Regions from separate parts of the Homo sapiens genome. Here region 2 is linked to region 1. Evidence: promoter capture Hi-C in 16 types of primary human blood cells and fetal thymus (Javierre and others, 2016). All regions are on one chromosome and are shown on one strand. The core of a region is centred on a gene start or on the middle of the fragment in contact, and the rest is flanking DNA. Distances in the headings are between cores, read along the strand shown. Region 1 holds the start of RCN2 (reticulocalbin 2). Region 2 has its middle 72 kb from the start of HMG20A.

The links. The method cuts DNA at HindIII sites, captures the fragments that hold promoters and counts their contacts. A CHiCAGO score of 5 or more calls a contact.
Region 2: a contact is called between a fragment that was not itself captured here and the fragment with the promoter of RCN2 in region 1, in 2 of 17 cell types (monocytes and non-activated CD4 T cells). The highest score is 6.0, in monocytes.

Annotation. Positions count from the first base shown.
Region 1 is chr15:76,929,260-76,934,501 of GRCh38, forward strand. It overlaps RCN2 (reticulocalbin 2), which reads left to right and starts at 2,490. Exons shown (of 7, transcript NM_002902.3): 1 at 2,490-2,726; 2 at 3,102-3,207. The coding sequence starts at 2,583. RefSeq lists a silencer at 2,183-2,932. The HindIII fragment of the contact is 17,303 bases long and covers 1-4,389 here.
Region 2 is chr15:77,490,376-77,495,617 of GRCh38, forward strand. It overlaps a transcript of HMG20A not described here. Among named protein-coding and RNA genes, the nearest start is that of HMG20A, 72 kb to the left of the region's middle. RefSeq lists an enhancer at 5,235-5,242. The HindIII fragment of the contact is 9,764 bases long and covers 1-5,242 here.

The DNA of each region.
Region 1 (5,242 bases), core at 1,240-3,739:
TGCAGTCTCATTGAGTTTGTTGGCTTTCCCACTTAAGTTGTTTATTGTACCAAATCTCATTCATTCTGGTGGAAATCAGCCTGTAACACAAGGGTCCATGCCATATATGTTAAATATTGCTTTGTTTTTTAAGCCACTGCTTATTGTAACACACATCTTACCAAATTCAAAAAGCAAGAAATCTACAAATCTTTCTTTCAATAGTTTCAAAGTTAACTTTATTACCCATAATACATACTTCTAAAAGAATGCCAGAATAGCTGAATTCATACATTTCACAAAAATTTATTGAGTTCCTCTTTTTTGTAGGTGCACTAGGAGAAATCACACAGTTCCCTACCTCAAGGCTCTCACAGCAAACAAATCTAAAAAAATGATTGAACTGTATACTTAACATTTGTGTACTTTAGGTAAATTATACCTCAATAAAAATATAAATAAAACCAATTTTGCTATATGCTATGGGCTTTTATAGGTCAAGAAAATTGATCTTTGGATTCTCATAACACATTTTTTTAAACAGGCTACTTATTTTAGATATTTATTTTTCCCCGAGTAGAATGGATTAATTACAAGTAATGACATTGGATCAGTCTTGCCTCTTTTAAGCATAGGCCTTTACTGTAATCTGCTTCCAAACAATCCCAATAAAATCGTTGATTTTAAGAGTCAAAAAGTTGCTCAGAGCCTTCTTCAGGGACTCTTAACTTTTTCTGCCACATGGATCCTTTGAAACTCTGATAAAAGCAAAGCTATAGACTTCCTCCCTGGAAATATACACATGCACCAAGATTTTGGGATAAACACACCACTGAAAACCATGCAGGGACCACTTAGGAACCCAAAGATCTCAAATTAAGATCCACTGAGATAACACAATCCTTTTCCTCCAGATGAAAGCAATAGACCCAGGGAGCGAAAACAGCCTGTTTAGGGGCTGAAGACAGAACCCAGCCTTCTGATACTGCTTACTCCACTGTCTCTTTAGATATCATTAAGTTCCCTTGGCCCCCAAAACTCCCATCTGTGGATCCCCTGAGTTTAGAAGAACTTCCACAGTACCTTGTAGCCTACCTTTTATAACTGGAGTCACGCCGGAAGCTGGTCAAAGTTTACCTTTTACTTATTGGAGAACAACAGGTACAAAGCAGAGTTTCTTATATTAAATTGGGACATTTTTCTCTTTTTTTCCTCAAAACCGAGAATGGAAGTGAAAATTAAAATCCAGCAATAAAGGGTTTTCTTTTTAGTTTAATGAAATCAACTCTAAAATTTGCTTTTATTTATATTCTGAAATTTAAAACTTTGTTCTTCGTTGATCTTTATAACATTGGAAAGATTGAACTTACACTTTGCTCTGTGAATCTTTCAATGGTTTGTGACCAAACCATAAATTTCAACCCGACCCAGGAAATTTCTGCGACTTGTGCCCACCCAGTTTTGCAGTTTGGAACAGAATTCTTGCTCCCAATCCAAATAGAGACTGAGAGAAATGAAAGAGGACCCAGAAAGCCTTTTCTTCTCTGTGAAAGGCCTGATCCTAAGTGGCGCAATCAATAAAGAAAAGGGTTCAAGGTGCAGCCTACAAATTTCTTAGAGTTTAATGTGTTCAGGTTGAGGTGGAGAAATTACATAAACCTGTGAATAGACATGGAATAGAAGCCATGTGTATATGCATTCTGTCCCTAAAGGTTTTGCTAGGTACTTACTAAGCTATTCCTTCTGTGCAATCATCTTTCGTTTTTCTACTTGTATGGATGAAAGCCTACCTTCACTGAACACTTCACCTTATGTGCCAGCTATTGTTCTAAACCCATTACATTATTTAATCTTCACGACAATTCTTTAAGGTAGTCTTATTACTATGCTCATTTTATAGATGAGCAAACAAGTTTTCAGGGGTCAAGAAATTTGAGCAAGTTCACATTAACTTGTAAATCACGAAATTGAGCATCAGATACAAGCATCTGGCTGCACTTCCTGAGTTTGTACGTCCTACTCTCATAAAATAGATACATTGAAGACTGAGAAAGAATACTGTTGGCCGATTCCTCAGGCAATAATTTTTTCGATATTGTATTGTTGTCTCAGAAACCTCCAGCCTCTCTCATTGATGGACGGTAGGAGGGGCACATGGAGTGGACCAGGAGTGGGCAGGAGTGGGGTGGGGGCGTGCTTTTAGAAGCGTTTCGGGGGAACGACAAGGCGCGGGTCGTAGAGGTCTACCCTCTCTGCAGTCCCAGCATGGCTCCTGGAGCTCTCTGGGCGGCCGCTGACCCCGACATCGCGGCGGCCCGCCCCCAGCGCCGCGCTGCCCAATCAGCGGCGCGGCCTGGTGCCCCGCCACTCCGCGCCGGCCATATAGGCCTCCTCCTGGCGCGCCTCCGCACCGCATTGGTGGACCGGCCCCCAGCCCGTCCATGGGCGTTGTGGCCGCCACCGCAGGTTCCGCCTCCCGTTCCCTCCGCCCTCAACGTACGTCGCACCGCCTCTCTGTAGCCGCCCGCGGAGCATCGCAGCCGGCCCGGGCCCCCGCCAGCCTCCCTCCTCGCGTCCCTCGGTGTCCTCCGCGGGCCGGCGCGATGCGGCTGGGCCCGAGGACCGCGGCGTTGGGGCTGCTGCTGCTGTGCGCCGCCGCGGCCGGCGCCGGCAAGGCCGAGGAGCTGCACTACCCGCTGGGCGAGCGCCGCAGCGACTACGACCGCGAGGCGCTGCTGGGCGTCCAGGTGAGGCGGCCAGGCCGGTGCTGGGAGGGCCGGGCCTCGCACCGCGGCTGCCGCGGGCTTTGTCCCGGGACAAAGGGGGGCGGCCGGGCGAGGCCTGGCAGGGGCGGCCTGACAATGGGGGCCGGGCGGCGCGGCACTCGCTCTCTGGGGGTCCTGGGGCCTGGAAAGCCTGAGGAGATAGCACGGCCCAAGAGCTGGATCCCTTCTACCCCTCAGATCATGGAGGGTGTGTAGGGGGTAGGGGCCTTGAAGTGCAGGTGCGGGTCACCCCGAAACCCTTTGGCAAGGGGGTCTTCTAGTAGCCCTGTTTTTCTCCACCATTTTGCCCCACTGATAGTAATGCTTGGCCCTCCTGTGTGTCGCTTCCCCCTAAAGGAAGATGTGGATGAATATGTTAAACTCGGCCACGAAGAGCAGCAAAAAAGACTGCAGGCGATCATAAAGAAAATCGACTTGGACTCAGATGGCTTTCTCACTGAAAGTAAGGACTGCCCTACACGACTAACAATGGAGACAAACACAAATATGTTAAGCAGCGGTGTCTGCTGAATGTATAGATTGCTAGTGTCCCAAGTTGGAAGTCCTGTGAGAAGGAGAAAAGGACATGGAGAATAGGCTTTATACTTACAAATCTTTAGACACTGAGAACCAAGTAAAACTCGGTGCTTTCTCCAGTTATATATAAACATCATTGACCCTGTACTCTATGTGGAAGTCACACCTTGAGACACCCTCTTTCTCACGTGACTTTTGTTAGTGTCAACAATATGATTTATTTTAGAGAAATATGCCCCAAAACTTTAAGGCAGTAAATGATTTATCGCTCTTTTGATATATGCTTCATTTAAATTTTAGGAATTTGCTTCTTTTTTTAAGCAAGTAGAAAAAGACCTGTTGCCTGTGAATTACGTTTATTATAACATTATACCAAAATGTTAGAGCTGGTAGGGGCCTTGGGATCATCTTGTCCACATCACTTTGTAGAGATGAAGAAATGAAGCACAGGGATAAGTGCCTTCTACAAATAAGTGGCAAAGCTGGACTAGAATCCAGGTATCCTGCTCTTAATTCAGGTTTTAATATCCTTCAGTTAAAAAAAAAAATCTGATGCTCTCAGGTAAATTCTCTAGTCAGAAATGAAATGCACAGACTATTAAAAGAATGTTCTAAATAAATTGCTGTGCAGTTGTCTCTCCCCATTGTTCAATTCAAATGATGTTCCCTGTCAGCGTTCCAAGTGGGTCCTCAGAAAAATTCAGGTTGTTATTGTGACTCTTAAGTTAGCTGTTTTTCTGTAACTCTCATTTAAATGCTGTTCACCATCAAGGAATTAAGTTGCTGGAGACAATTAAAAACTGGTAAATTTAAGATGTGCTGTCAATGACATATTCACATTGGAACCCTCTGGAAGATTAAGGGCTTTTTTCTTCCACTTAGTTAGACAATAATAACAAGACCTTTGGTCTCTGATTATCCAATCTAAGAATAAGTCAATCTTTGGTTATACTAGAGTAATCAAAGAACACAACACGTTGATTTGGAAGACTGCGTGGTACCTATCTGTCAAGACCTAGATATGTTCAAATATTTAATAGTAAGGTTTTAAGAAGTTTAAACTTAGAAAAGTTTTAGTCCAAATATTCATTATACAGATGAGAAGAAAAGCTTGAGATGGTAAACTACCCCCTGATGGCAAAGCTGAAGTGTGAACCCACATTTCTGATCCCTGTTCCATTCTGTTTTCTTCTATGCCATGGTGATCTCTTTAAATAAACTAGAAGAAAGATTCATGGTGCTTACGAAAGCCTTCATTCTACTTGAGGACCCTTAAGATAATTTTGGCAATTTGCTCTTTGAGGGCCAGGTCTGGAATCAGATGTTAAGAGGTAGCAAAACTCAGTAGGAGTTGGCTTTGAAGCCAGACAGGTTTGAATCTGGACTCTGCTATTTACTAGTTGTGAAGGCTTGGACTTTTCTGAACCTCAGTTTCCTCACCTGTATAATAGTGATGATTATAATTGCATTGTTTTGAAGATTAGAGGCAACATGTACAGAGGAACCTGATAAATGGTATACTCATGCTGTCCTCACAAATATTCGTGTTCGTCCCTCCCTTTGTTTCCTTTAACGTAGTTTAGTAAATATTTTTATGAATAGTTTTTTGTTTTTTTTTTTGAGGCAGAGTCTCGCTCTTGTCACCCATGTTGGCGTGCAGTAGTGTGATCTTGGCTCACTACAGCCTCTGCCACCCAGGTTCAAGTGATTCTTCTGTCTCAGCCTCCCAAGTAGCTGGGATTACAGGCACTGGCCACCATGCCCGGCTAATTTTTGTATTTTTAGTAGAGACGGGGTTTTACCCGAGACCAGGCTGGTCTCGAAATCCTGACCTTAGGTGATCCGCCTGCCTCAGCCTCCCAAAGTGCTGGGATTACAGGCGTGAGCCACTGAGCCCAGCCAAATAGATTTTTTAAAAGTTGATTGAAAAGTGAACATTTGAATTTTAGAAACTTTCCCAT
Region 2 (5,242 bases), core at 930-3,429, 560 kb after region 1:
AGGAGAAGGCTGGCATAGGAACCCAAGTGAGAAATGACAGTGGCTTAGCCTAGAGTGGTGGGAAAAGGCAGATTAATTCAGGATATAGTTTGGGAGTATAATGGACAGGAATTGCTGAGGAGTGGGATGTGGAGAATGAAAGAAAAAGAAGAATGACTCAGTTTTTCCTGGGCACAGTGGCTTACGCGTGTAATCCCAGTACTTTGGGAGGCCAAGGCGGGTAGATTTCTTGAGCCCAGGAGTTCAAGACCAACCTGGGCAACGTGGTGAAACCCCATCTCTATAAGAAAAAGAAGAAGAATGACTCAGTTTTTTTGGCTTGGAAAACTGGGTAATGGAGAGAGGTGCCATGGCCTGAGATTGCAGACTTAAGTATGAAACATCACGGAAGAAAAATCAAGGATTTGTTTTTGACTGGCTAAACTTGAAGTCCCAACAACAGATGAGCCCCTGGGCAAGACACACATCTCCCTGCTATCAGTTAAAAAGTTCCTTTCAGTTCCTAAAAGTCTGTGGTTCCTTGAGATTCTAAGTTCAGGTCAGTGTTTGCTAACATTCCTTCTATCCTCAGCGCATGTGCACACATGTAGATCCAGTTACGTTGTGCGTTGAACTGTGAAATTAAGGAATGGTCTCCTTTTTAATTCTTGACGCTTCTTAGGAAAAGAATTTTTAAAACTTGCATCTGCATTTGTTTAAGATTGACATAAAGCAGCTGAATGTTCTAGGATATAAAAATCATGCCATAACCTGACCATTAGAAAATCCTGGGGCAAGAAATGGAAAGCGTCTGCTTAAAAGAGACTGGTCAAAAATATATTTGGCATCATTCAAAGAAGGGTAATGTGAGAAGACATCACTGATACAGTCAGAAGGTTTAAAGACTCAGCAAATGGGCTCCTGTGAGGGGTGCTTTTGCTATCTTCAAGGATAGAAGTCAACTGAAGGCAGCTGGGTCCAGGCACTGGAATGTAAGACAACAACCTATTTTTCTTGGGGCCGGTGGATTTTTGAAGTAGACTTATGTTATATTTATCAAAAGAATTTCTTGGTTTAAAGGACAAACTAATATAGTAATTATGGATTTTATTCATCCCTCAGAAGAATGAGTATTTTAGATACATTCATTTTTTCAAGCATTTCCAAGTACTCACTATGTGTTTTGGGTGTAAAGTTGAGGAAGTCCCTCTCCACTGGAAGCCCACAATGTAACAAAAAATAGATACAAAAGCTAACTACAATAGGGTCTGATAAATGATCAAACGGCTGTGAGCGCAGTATTCTGGAAAACACAAAGGAAAAATTCAGTGGTTTTGCTTGGGGGAAGGCAAAAGAGCTTTACCAGGATAACATTTTGAGCTGGGCCTTAGAAAAAGAGTAGTTCCTTAAGATAAGCTAGAAATAGACCTAGAGATAGAAGTACATTTTTGGTGTACTCAAGTAATTCAGCGTGACTGGAACACAGGTTATATCCAGGGCACTGACCAAAAAGAAAGATAGTGAGGTGTTCTGAAAATGGATTGTAAATGGGCCTTGAATGTCAAGCCAAGGGTTTTAGCTTTTGTTTTGCAGGCAGAGGGAAGGCCTCAAGGCTGTTTTTGCAAGGCAGTGACATAAGGAAAACTACACCACAGCCTCTCAACCATTTTTCTGCCACGAGCTGCTTTGGCAATCTGGTAAAGTCTATGGACCCTTCTAGGAATGTTTTCTAAGTGCATAAAATACAAATAAAATTACAAAGGAAATCCACTATATTAAAATATAGCTAACAAAATATTAACAATGTGTTATGTAGGAATACCTGTGCTTCTTGATAAAGCATTAAATAACATGATCTAGTTCTAATAATGACCATAATTTTAAAGTAGTAGTGACCATAAATAATATTTCAACATCTGCAATGTCTATAATATAGTATGAAAATATCTGTGATCTTGTTGGTGGCAAAGTCACAGGTCCTGCCAATACTACTGGGGCTTGTTGCCAATGTTTATAATCAAAAGAAATGCAAATTTTCAATTAGAGGTTTGTGAAAATCAAAATGTAATTTCCCCCCATCCATTATTGTGGTCCTTAGCATAAATACTCTTGAATTCAAGGCAGTATGGAGATAGACTGGTTAGGAGACTGTTAAAATAGCCAGGATGGAAGGTAAGAAGAGCATGCAGTCGGGGGCTGGGTATGGTGGCTCACACCTTTTGGGAGGCTGAGGCAGGAGGATTGCATGAGCTCACAAGTTCAAGACCAGACTGGGAAACATGGTGAGATCTCATCTCTATAAAAAAAAAATTTTTAATTAGCCAGGCATGATGGGGCTCCAAGATACTTGGGGGGCTGAGGTGGGAGGATTGCTGGAGCCCGGGAAGTCGTGGCTGCAGTGAGCCATGTTCATACCATTGCACTCCAGCTTGGGTGACAGAGCAAGACTCTGTCTCCAAGGAAAATAAATAAATAAAGAAGAGGAAGAAGAAGAGCATGCAGTGGGGATGGAGTAAAGGAGCAGAGGAGATTAGAGACATTTGGGAGTTTGACTTGGTTCCTCCCAAAGCTCAGTGAGGAATTCTTCAAGGAGGAATTTTGGGTAACTGTGGTCTGGTGGGGCGGGTTCACCAGGAAGGCAGTGTAAATACCCTTTAGGCAGCTCTCCATATGCAGTCTACTTTCATTACTTGGTTCAACTAATATGCATTACCCTCTGGAGCAGGCAATAGGAATATAGCAAAACAGGTAACAATTCTTGCTTTCATGGAGCCTAGTATCTAGTGGAAGAAACGTGATTAAACAAACTTAAGTAGATGTGATGTTGCCATGTGGTATCAAATGCAGGAAAAGAGTAGTAGTAGCGTGTGTCAGCATATTGGCAGGGAGTGGGCAACTTTTTTCGATGGTGGGGTCAAGGAAGGCCCCTTCAAGGAAGTGACACTTAAAATGAAAAACCAGTAGGACTTAGGGAGAGTCAGGAAAAGAGCACAAAAACCAGCTTTCATTGGGGATTTAGAGGAGCTGAAAGAAAACCAGGGACCTGGAGCAGGGAAATGTAGGGGAAAAACAGCAAGAGATAGGAGAGAGGCCATGTGCGGTCTTATCACCAGCCCAAGGATCTGGGATAGTCTCCTCAGTGCAGGGGGAAGTCACTGAAGGTTTCAGAAAGGGAAGTGACATCATCTAGTTTGTGGTTTTAAAAACTTATTCTGACTACTCTGTGAAGCATTGAAATAGGGAGCTAAATTGTGGCTGTGGCTATAATCCCTCCAGAGGTGGTGGTATTATGGACTAAGGGTGTAGCAGTGAAGAATGATGTGGGGAAGAGGATGGAATACAGCCATTTTGGTGGTGGAAGGAACAAGATGAGTGACGGATGAGAGGGAGGCAGGAGGGAGAGAGCACCTACAGTGATCTTGTGCTTCACATGGATGGTCCAGATACCAGTTACAGAGACAACGACTAGAAGAGGAGCAGACTGGGGCAGGGGAATGGCTGGAAATCAGACAGCCTTGTGGGAATGTTTATTTGAGATGCAAGTGTTAAGTCAGCAGATGTAGGTGTTAAGTAAGCATTTATATTGACAATTCTAGAGCTTAAAAGGCGGGCCTGGACTTGGAATGACTTTTACCAAAGACTTCCAAGGAGACTTTTTTTATTAGAACTTTTCTCCCAGATCCTGGCACTGCTCTGAAGGCAGATAGTCAAACCCTACCAACTGCAGCCACCCCTGGCTAAAGATTTCACTGTTTTATTCTTTGCCCTAATGTTAACTTTTTTTGTTGTTGTTGAGACAGGGTCTTCTTTTGTTGCCCAGGCTGGTATGCAGTGGTGTGATCATAGCTCACTAGAGCCTTGAACTCCTGGGCTCAAGAGATCTTCCCACCTCAGTCTCCCAAGTAGTTAGGACTACAGATGTGCACTACCATGCCTGGCTAATTTTTCCATGTTTTATAGAGATGGGGGTCTCACTATGTTGTCCAGTCTGGTCTCAAACTCCTAGGCTCAAGCAATCCACCTACCTCAACTTCCCAAAGTGCTGGGATTACAGGCATGAGTCACCATACCCGGCCCCTACTGCTAACTTTCACTATTCTTTCATCCTGCCCTTGACATCAGAACAACATCTGGACCCAAGTGAGACTTTTCCATTGGCTTAAATCAGTCAGTACCTGTAAAGATGTTCAGAATATTTAAACTTACATGAGTCTGCCACATGAGATTTCTGCAGGGGGAGCTTTGCAGCCGTAAAGAGGATGCTAAACATAGTGGCTTATAATGAAATAATATGTTTATCTTGGCTGGTTTTATAGCAGATGTGATTGGGATATTTACTGGTTGTTTCTTAGAACTAGATGAAAGCAATAGTTCAGACCAAATGAATTACAGCAACAAAACATGCTAACAACATAAAAAAAGATATAGATTATGGAAAATTATAAATTGTGATCATGCAGAGAGGTCTCACTCTAGCCTGAACACTGGTGACCCACAACTAAATGGGGCCAAGATTAATCATGCCTCAATCTTACACATAAGCCAAGGGATCTTTTCTAAAGATCATGCCTATTAAAGCAGCAAAGACTTTTCTGCAAGATATATCATAATGAGCTCCAGACATTTAATGAGAGACAAGTGCTACGGTTGAAAGTGGTGACCTTCAGCATCGAATCTGAAAATGAAGTAGGCCTGCTTGCTCTGCAAAATGAGGCCCCAATCCAGTCTGCTTAGGTGAAGAGAAGTCTCACATTTGTAGATGGTCTGTTGCAGGCAAACCTTAAATCTTCTGGGAAAGGGGGAAAGGCTTTTGTTTGTTTTTATTTTTCTAATTAGGTAAGGATTGTACATGCAAGGAGCAAGCAGCTGACTCCAGGCTGCAGGCCCAGTAGCTTCCAAAGGCAGTAAAGCCAGCAGGCGTGGTGGCTCACGCCTGAAATCCCAGCACTTTGGGAGGCTGAGGCGGGTGGATCACTTGAGGTCAGGCGTTCGAGACCAGCCTGGCCAATATAGTGAAATCCTGTCTCTACTAAAAATACAAAAATTTGCTGGGTGTGGTGGCACATGCCTTGTAGTCCCAGCTACTCGGGAGGCTGAGGCAAGAGAATCGCTTGAACCCAGAAAGCAGAGGTTGTAGTGAGCTGAGATTGTGCCATTGCACTCCAGCCTGGGCATCACAGCAAGACTCCATCTCAAAAAAATAAAGAACAACAACAAAAAAAGGCAGTAAAGTGGAAAACGGCATCAAGGAAGAAACCAGCCT